Linked DNA regions of Homo sapiens: region 2 is linked to region 1. Evidence: promoter capture Hi-C in 16 types of primary human blood cells and fetal thymus (Javierre and others, 2016). All regions are on one chromosome and are shown on one strand. The core of a region is centred on a gene start or on the middle of the fragment in contact, and the rest is flanking DNA. Distances in the headings are between cores, read along the strand shown.

What was found. The method cuts DNA at HindIII sites, captures the fragments that hold promoters and counts their contacts. A CHiCAGO score of 5 or more calls a contact.
Region 2: a contact is called between a fragment that was not itself captured here and the fragment with the promoter of SLC9A2 in region 1, in 1 of 17 cell types (M2 macrophages). The highest score is 6.0, in M2 macrophages.

What each region holds. Positions count from the first base shown.
Region 1 is chr2:102,617,309-102,621,111 of GRCh38, reverse strand. It overlaps SLC9A2 (solute carrier family 9 member A2), which reads right to left and starts at 1,559. Exons shown (of 12, transcript NM_003048.6): 1 at 975-1,559. The coding sequence starts at 1,263. RefSeq lists a silencer at 1,842-1,951. The HindIII fragment of the contact is 5,203 bases long and covers 420-3,803 here.
Region 2 is chr2:102,538,143-102,541,848 of GRCh38, reverse strand. No RefSeq gene overlaps it. Among named protein-coding and RNA genes, the nearest start is that of SLC9A4, 67 kb to the right of the region's middle. The HindIII fragment of the contact is 5,272 bases long and covers 1-3,706 here.

The sequences.
Region 1 (3,803 bases), core at 310-2,809:
CAATCTCGGTTCAATGCAACCTCCGCCTCCTGGGTTCAAGCAATTCCCTCCCTCAGCCTCCCGAGTAGCTGGGATTACAGGCGCCCACCACCACGCCCGGCTAATTTTTTTGTATTTTTAGTAGAGACGAGGTTTCACCATGTTGATCAGTGATCCTCGTGATCCACCTTGCCTCAGCCTCCCAAAGTGCTGGGATTACAGGCGTGAATCACCTCGCCCGGCCAATTTTTTATTTTTGTACTGTTTGGTCTTGCTATGTTGCCCATGATGATCTTGAACTCCTGGCCTCAAGGGATCCTCACGTCTGGGCCTCCCAGTGTGCTGGGATTACAGGCTGGGCCATTGTCCTGGGCCCAGAGTTAATTATTTTTAAATATGCATCTCACCTCACTGGCCTCAGCCACCCCGAAGCAAAAGCTTCCTGGAGAGTGACAGCCTCAACCCAATAGAGGGAGGAGAAAGGGCGTTCCTATTGCAGCTGCAAGCACTCAGGTGTCCCTGGTCCCCTTCCATGCACCTCATTAGTCAGGCGCACAGCAGGGTCTGTGTCACTGCCAAGGCGCCTCTCTCCTGTAGCATCCAGGGTTTTAACCACATTATGCATAGCTCCGGGGTTCGTCGGCACCTCTCTCCCTGCAGGTGAGACTGGTACACTTCAATAAACAGATCTCACTCAACTTAAGCAGAGAGCTGACAAACTTGGCGTTCCGTGCGGCAGAAGTAAGCAGCAATCGCTGAGTTTGTAGAACTTACACTTGGGGCCATTTCAAGGCCAATGTTCCCTTAAGAACCAAAACGCGAAACTGCTCTTCCAAGGGTCCTTTTCAACCAGAAGAAGCTGCTCCATCTGTCGTCCCTGCCCTGATTCAAGATGAGGCGGTCACTATCTAGAGGTCAGCTGGCTGACCCGGTCACCCTCCAGGTGTCCCCCCGAGATCGCCCCCTCCCATTCCCCACAAGTCCAGTTCGCTCACCAATCTTGGCCAGGGAGGCCAGCAGGATCCAAAGGGTGATCTCGAAGGGGATCTGCACGTGGGGGTAATCCAGCGTAAACACAGGCAGCCGGCTCTCCTCGAACAGCGTCGTTCCGGGAGCCACCACGCTCGCAGGGCTAGGCGGGCTGGAACTGGTGCCCATGGCCCTCGGCGCGTTCAGCAAGGTCTCCGCCAGGGCGCCCACGGGCCCCGCCACCTGCAGGAGCAGCAGCAACAGCATCGGAGGCAGTGGCGCCCGCAGGCTCCTCCAGTTGCCCAGTGGTTCCATGGGTGCCGCCGGTTGCCGCCAAGGGGACCGGCGGTTGGCCCTCCGAGCGCTCAACGCATCGCGCCCGGGCTGCTCAGCCCGCTCCGCCCTGCCCCGTGCAGGGCAGGGCAGCGACAGCCACCCGCCGCTGCTGCGGCACCGGGTCTCTGCAACCAGAGGGCTAGGTCCTCGCTGCGAGCAGGCGCACTGCCTGGCGAGGCACGTGCAGGGCGACGAGAGGCCGCTGCGCGTACCCTCAGCAGCCCTCAGCCGCCCTCCGCCGCCGGCCGCCTGCCCATGCCGGTGCGCTGCTCTCCAGCCGCAGCGGCAGGCCCTGCCCAGGGCGGCCCGCGGGCGGGGGCGGGGCGGGCGCGGCGCCCAAGCCGCAGGGCAGGAGGACAAGGGGACCTGGCCGGCACACCGCGCACCTGCCCGAGCCCGCGGGGAACGCGGGGCCCCAGTGACCGCGGGGGCGATGGCTGCCCTCCCTTCGCGCAGGCACCGCGCGCCAAGACCCGCCACCCCCAGAGCCAGCGAACTGTGGGTGGAATCGCCGCAACGGGCGCATGGTGGCCGGAGCTGTCTCCGCCCCGGAGGCAGCGTCGGACGTCCATCCAGTGAAGGAACCAGCGCGACCCACGAGTCGCGCCCTTCCCTCCTCCCCCGCCCCCGCAGGCTCCTCCAAGGGGACACCCCGGTGCGCTGGGCGCGCGGGGAGGCGCCACAGGCTCGCGGTCCGGAGGAGAAGCCCGGGCCGGTGGAGGAGGAGTGCTGTCACCCCAGCCTGGCGCTGCGGAGGCCAAGACAAGGCATGGGATTCTCTGGACGTACAGAAAGTTTAGGAAAGCCAAATTTTGTTTCCTTTCCGAGAGTTATCAACTCGCGCACAAGGTGCTCTGAACAGGGAAACTCCCTGCGCGGAACTCAGTGTTCCCACGCCCCCACGGAATCGGAATCCTGTTCTCTCCTCTTGCCACATTGTGCTGCTTTCACCCATTTGCTACACTGTCGCTGCCACTTTTCTTCTCCCTCCCCCAGCTCACGTAAAAAAAACCAAAACATCTTTCTCCGCTTTTAGGCTTAGAGGTGTACATGTCCAAGAGCATAAGAAATATAATTATTTCATGGAAAACCAGTGATTTGCCTCGCTCAGATTGACTTGCTCCGCTAATTACAGGACAGGCTGTGGTCAGGAAAAGAAAGGAAGCGTGATTCTTCTTCTGGATCTAAAAGGGCTTTCTCATGCAGAGCCAACCTTTCCTGTCCTTCAGAGCGCCTCCTTCACTGGTTGCGATCTCACTGTTTGAGCATCTTTATCGCCAGAAACCGAAATGAGCACAAAGGGGACTAGTTGCCATTCAATTAACTGAAAGTTTTCCCTTTGATATTTATGAAATAAAATCCTTCTCTTTTCTTAATCTTTGATGTGTCAAAACACGTGGCTTCTACTATTAAACAAACACCAGGCAGTTCGACCTTCAAAGCCGTTTTTTTTTTTTTTTTCTTTCAAAGTTCTAACATAGAAAATCAGTGAGATGTCAGCAGAGGGTACAAGAAAAAAAAATCCTCCACCTGCATAGAAGAAAATAAGGAACAGTCCTCTTTGGGTCTTCAAAGTAATGGAGGGACAAGTCCAGGCTAAAAAGAGAGAAGAATTCTGGGAGATGTTACAGAGCACTACTTCATTTGATATTTCACAAAGCATCAGTTTTTCAAAAGCGCTACAGAATTGAAACTAAAGATATTATCTTGAGAAGAATCATTGGGCATCCAAAACTCAGCCTCCCCTTCTCCTTTCACTGGAAACGTTTATTAAAGGTATGTGCCTAACATACCCCTGTGAAAAGGCAGCAAATAAGAGATTTTTAAATTTTTTGAGTATCTGTCTCTACATGGGAAGCTCAATACAAGGCACTTTACTTGCATTTTTTTGTCAATCGTAAAAATCCAAAGAGGCAGATATTTTTTACCCATTTTATAAGTGAAGAAATATAGTGTAGAAATGTGTAAAAATAAACAAATAGACTTAATCAAGTTTACATATTAAGTAAGTGTCTGGATGGAATTCACACCCAGGCCTGCCCAGGCTAACACTGGTATCATCTCACCCTCTACCCCATGACTAGTTGCCCATAAACAGCACGCTATATTCTCAGCTACTTTAAAATAAGCAGTGGAGAATATTACAGGGATTGTTCAAAAAAGTTACAGCAGGATAAAGTTTTGGTAAGTGAATCAGGCAGTTCTACAAACTTAGTGACATAGTAATAGGGAGAGGGCACATTTAGACAATACTTTCTAGGAGTTTGTCACACAACACTTTTAAGAATAATTGTGTATCATGAACAAGAAAATGAATGACAAATCTGTTTCCGGGCCCTCACTGCCTGTAAACCTTATGTGGTATCACTTCAACTTTATACATCTATGCTACTGCAGTTAAAGGCTATCCACTTTTTTTTACATTTGAAAAAAAAGTCGTTTTATTTATTCTTGTAAATGGGAGGCGAAGAAATTAGTCTAAAAAGACATTCTTTTCATCTTTCCCTTAAAGCAAATTT
Region 2 (3,706 bases), core at 274-2,773, 79 kb after region 1:
CATCTGCTGATTCAGAAATATTGCCTTGTTGAAGGAAGAGGCTATAGGGTTGTCCCCAGACAGGTGAGGCTAATGCCTATTGGAAAGACATCTACTGCAAGGTAAACTACATTTACTGTAATCCTGGAGATAGTTCAGAAGTCTGGAAGAACTGACCCTGTAGTGCTAAACCAAGGTTTAACCATTGCTCTAAGGTATTTAGATCTTAGGACTAAACAGGACACATTAATGAAGCAACATTTTCCCAGAGCTTTCTTTATGTCTGGCATCCAAAGCATTTATAGTCTTATAGAGAACACTGGACAGGACTCTAAGCCTTGCAAATAATTTATCAAATGTAAAATTATCTTCCTGTGTATGGAAGTTTCCTGAGCCTCCCTTAAATACCAAAAAGGCTTAGTGTTGTGATTTAATCACGATAGTACCTTTTCTCCTCCAATAAATTCACCCTACTTCCTCAAGTCATTATGAAACTAAACCTCTTGTGAGGTACCCCAAAATGTCTTATTTTCTGTTCATTCTGCCTGGAAGAATTTAATTGCCAAATTCACCATAGATGTAGTTTACTTTTCAAATTTTCATTTTCATTCTTATAATATTTGTCCAAATGTTTTGTTTTGTTTTTTTTTTTACCAGAGAGCTGCCTGAAACTGCATGTGTTGTGGAGTGAAAGTGCAGACATTCCAGCTGTATTGTCTAAAATCAGAACTTGAAATTCAGCTCCAGGGATGTGGGTGGGGTAGGGCAAGCATTGTTTGCTAAACCCTGTGTTGGGCTGGTCTGTACTGCCCGGCTCTGTGTGACTTTCCATGGGCGTGTCCTTGGGTGAGGACCTGTCCTTTTGTCCTCTCCTTTTAAGAATATCCTTTTTTGGAGGACAAAACATTTATCCTCCTTTCTGACTGGTTGTTTTTTTAACTTCATTTAGAACTTTAGTGATATCCTCCCACCACCCGCCCTCCCCGAAACCTCATCTACACGACCCCTTTTAAAGATGGCACAGTTAGATAATAGAGCTGCCTCCTGAACCAGGTCCAGGACAAGCACAAACTCAAAACAAGGGCCGCCTTCACGGGTGAAAGAGTACACCAGTGAAACCCAGGGTCGGAGTTTCACTCACTCTTAGTTACCCAGAAAAATTGCTGTAAGAAAACAAAATAAATGAAACACTATGGGTCCTTCTTTCCTTTTAGACTGGCTCAGGGCCATGGTGCTAGGCGACCCCTTATTTTAAAAGTTTCTAACTGGCCCAATTTCTAGTATTTTCACTAGTTCAAAGATAAAATCCAATGAAAAAAAATATTGAATAAAAATAATTTAATTCAAGCATAACTCATAGCCTCACTTCACTATATTTGTCCAAAGACGCAGACTCCTGAATGAATGATTTGGTCACACCCTCTGTGAGCATGAATTAGCACTTCAGCATCAGGTAAAATGGAAAGGAACCTTGGAGCTGTGGCAGCAGCAGTCAAACAAGACCTAAATTTTACCTGGTTTGGTAAAGTAACCTTTAAAATTCAAATGATGGTGGCAAAAAGCATATTCTTTTTTTCAGTGTATTCTCTACAACAGTTATGAGGGTAACTACAGCTTAGTGGATAGAGTTAGTGACATTGGAGTCAGACTGCTCTAAATGATACTGCCATTTACTAGCTGTATGTCCTTTGTGATAACTTAACTGAGACTCAGTTTCCTCTTCTGTACAGTGGGGAGAAAAAACATAATAACTACTCTATAAGATTGCTATCAGAATTAAATTTTTAAAGTGTATATATAGAGTACTTAGTAAAATGAGCATATAGTATATGTTCAATTACTGACAAAGTACTTGCCAAGAATATAAGTTCTTTTGCAAATATTATATGAATGCTTCAATAGTTGAAGTCGGCCGGGCGCGGTGGCTCACGCCTGTAATCCCAGCACTTCGGGAGGCCGAGACGGGCGGATCACAAGATCAGGAGATCGAGACCATCCTGGCTAACACGGTGAAACCCCGTCTCTACTAAAAATACAAAAAATTAGCCGGGCATGGTGGCAGGCTCCTGTAGTCCCAGCTACTCGGCAGGCTGAGGCAGGAGAATGGCGTGAACCCGGGAGGCAGAGCTTGCAGTGAGCCAAGATCGCACCACCGCACTCCAGCCTGGGCGACAGAGCAAGACTCCGTCTCACAAAAAAAAAAAAAAAAAAGTTGAAGTCATTCTTCTTATCCCCTCCCATTTTCTTCAGTGGAAATGTTGGTTTATGTGTCCATTCTAAGTAAACAACATAGTTCATGTTTCAACGTTGCCAAGAACTGTGGATATTGTCTGGTCAGGGACTCATTTGGAAACCATGAAAAAGTTCTTTGGAAACAACATATAATTGAAATTCAAAAAGAAACTCAATTAAAATCAGACCAGAACATTTTATAAGTCCTCAAAAACAAAAACATAATGGCTCAAATTAGCAATCTTGCTTATCATCTAATTTTTACATCATTCATTAAGTTTATAAAAACAAATTTTCAAAACGACAACAGTTTCCACTGTATTTACATGTCCACTTTAAAGCAAAGTTCTTTTTTGGCAAGATGGAGCGTCTGTTTTTTCCTATTGGATCTTTCCCAAGCAAGAAAGAATTTTGTGCAGATCTGAGTCACTTATTAAATTCCCAATTCTGCTCAAGGAGGAAATTTAGGTCAGTGGTTATGAGCCAAGACAGACCTGGTGTCTAAGGTCTTCCTTAAAATTAGGGAGACCTTGGATCTGTTACTTAATCTCTCTAAACTCATTTCCCTTCATTTCAGATGTACTGAAACTAGTATGTAAAGCATTTTAATAGTGTCTGGCACATAGTAAGCACTCTAAAAATGTTGGCTATCACTTCTCTATTCAAGATTGATTTCTTAGAACACAGAGGATATACCTTGATTTTAGGACCACCTATTTCAATTTGAGATCTGTATTACTAAGGAAATAGTTTTGGTTCAGTCCACAACATGGTTTTTAGTTAATTTGTTGAATAAACCCCAACTTGAGGAAGACTAGGCAATGGAAATTGTGTTTCTAGCCTGCCACACTTACTTGGGTACCCCTGGCTTGGAAGCTCATTAGAGCCTCAGAAAGAAAAAGAATTTATTAAATCAATTATTGCGCACAGATGAAAGGGCACATCACTTGCTAATTACAGCAGTGGCTAGCACTGATGCAGGCATCTCTTTTATTCTCCTTAGCTTATGGCCCCATTAGCAATTAACGGTGACTGATGTCCTGAAAGGAAGTGTTCTGTCTGCCCTGCTGGGTTTTCTCAGGAGGAATTAGAAATGAGATACTTGACAGAGTTTAGCCAGAAAAATAAAATAAAAAAAATTTAAAACTACAAGAAACCACCTGTTTTATTTGTGGATAAAATATACTTGCAAAAACCTTAAACAGCCTCAACACACTCATTGACTTCATTTATTAAGAATATTTTACTTTGCCTAATTTTGGAACATTATGAAATGTACCAGAAACTATTTTGTTCCATACTAAAAGTGCTTAAACACTTATCTCTTTAGTTAATATTCACAAGTTAACAGAATCACTTTTTTGGAGGGAAGGTCTCTTATAGAAATGAAATTCCAAACTGAGGAATTAAACTCCATTGAGTTTTTTCTCAACAAAAGAGGTTTCCCTTTTCCTCATTGTGTGCCCATCACAGTATACAGAAGCAATGCCATGGT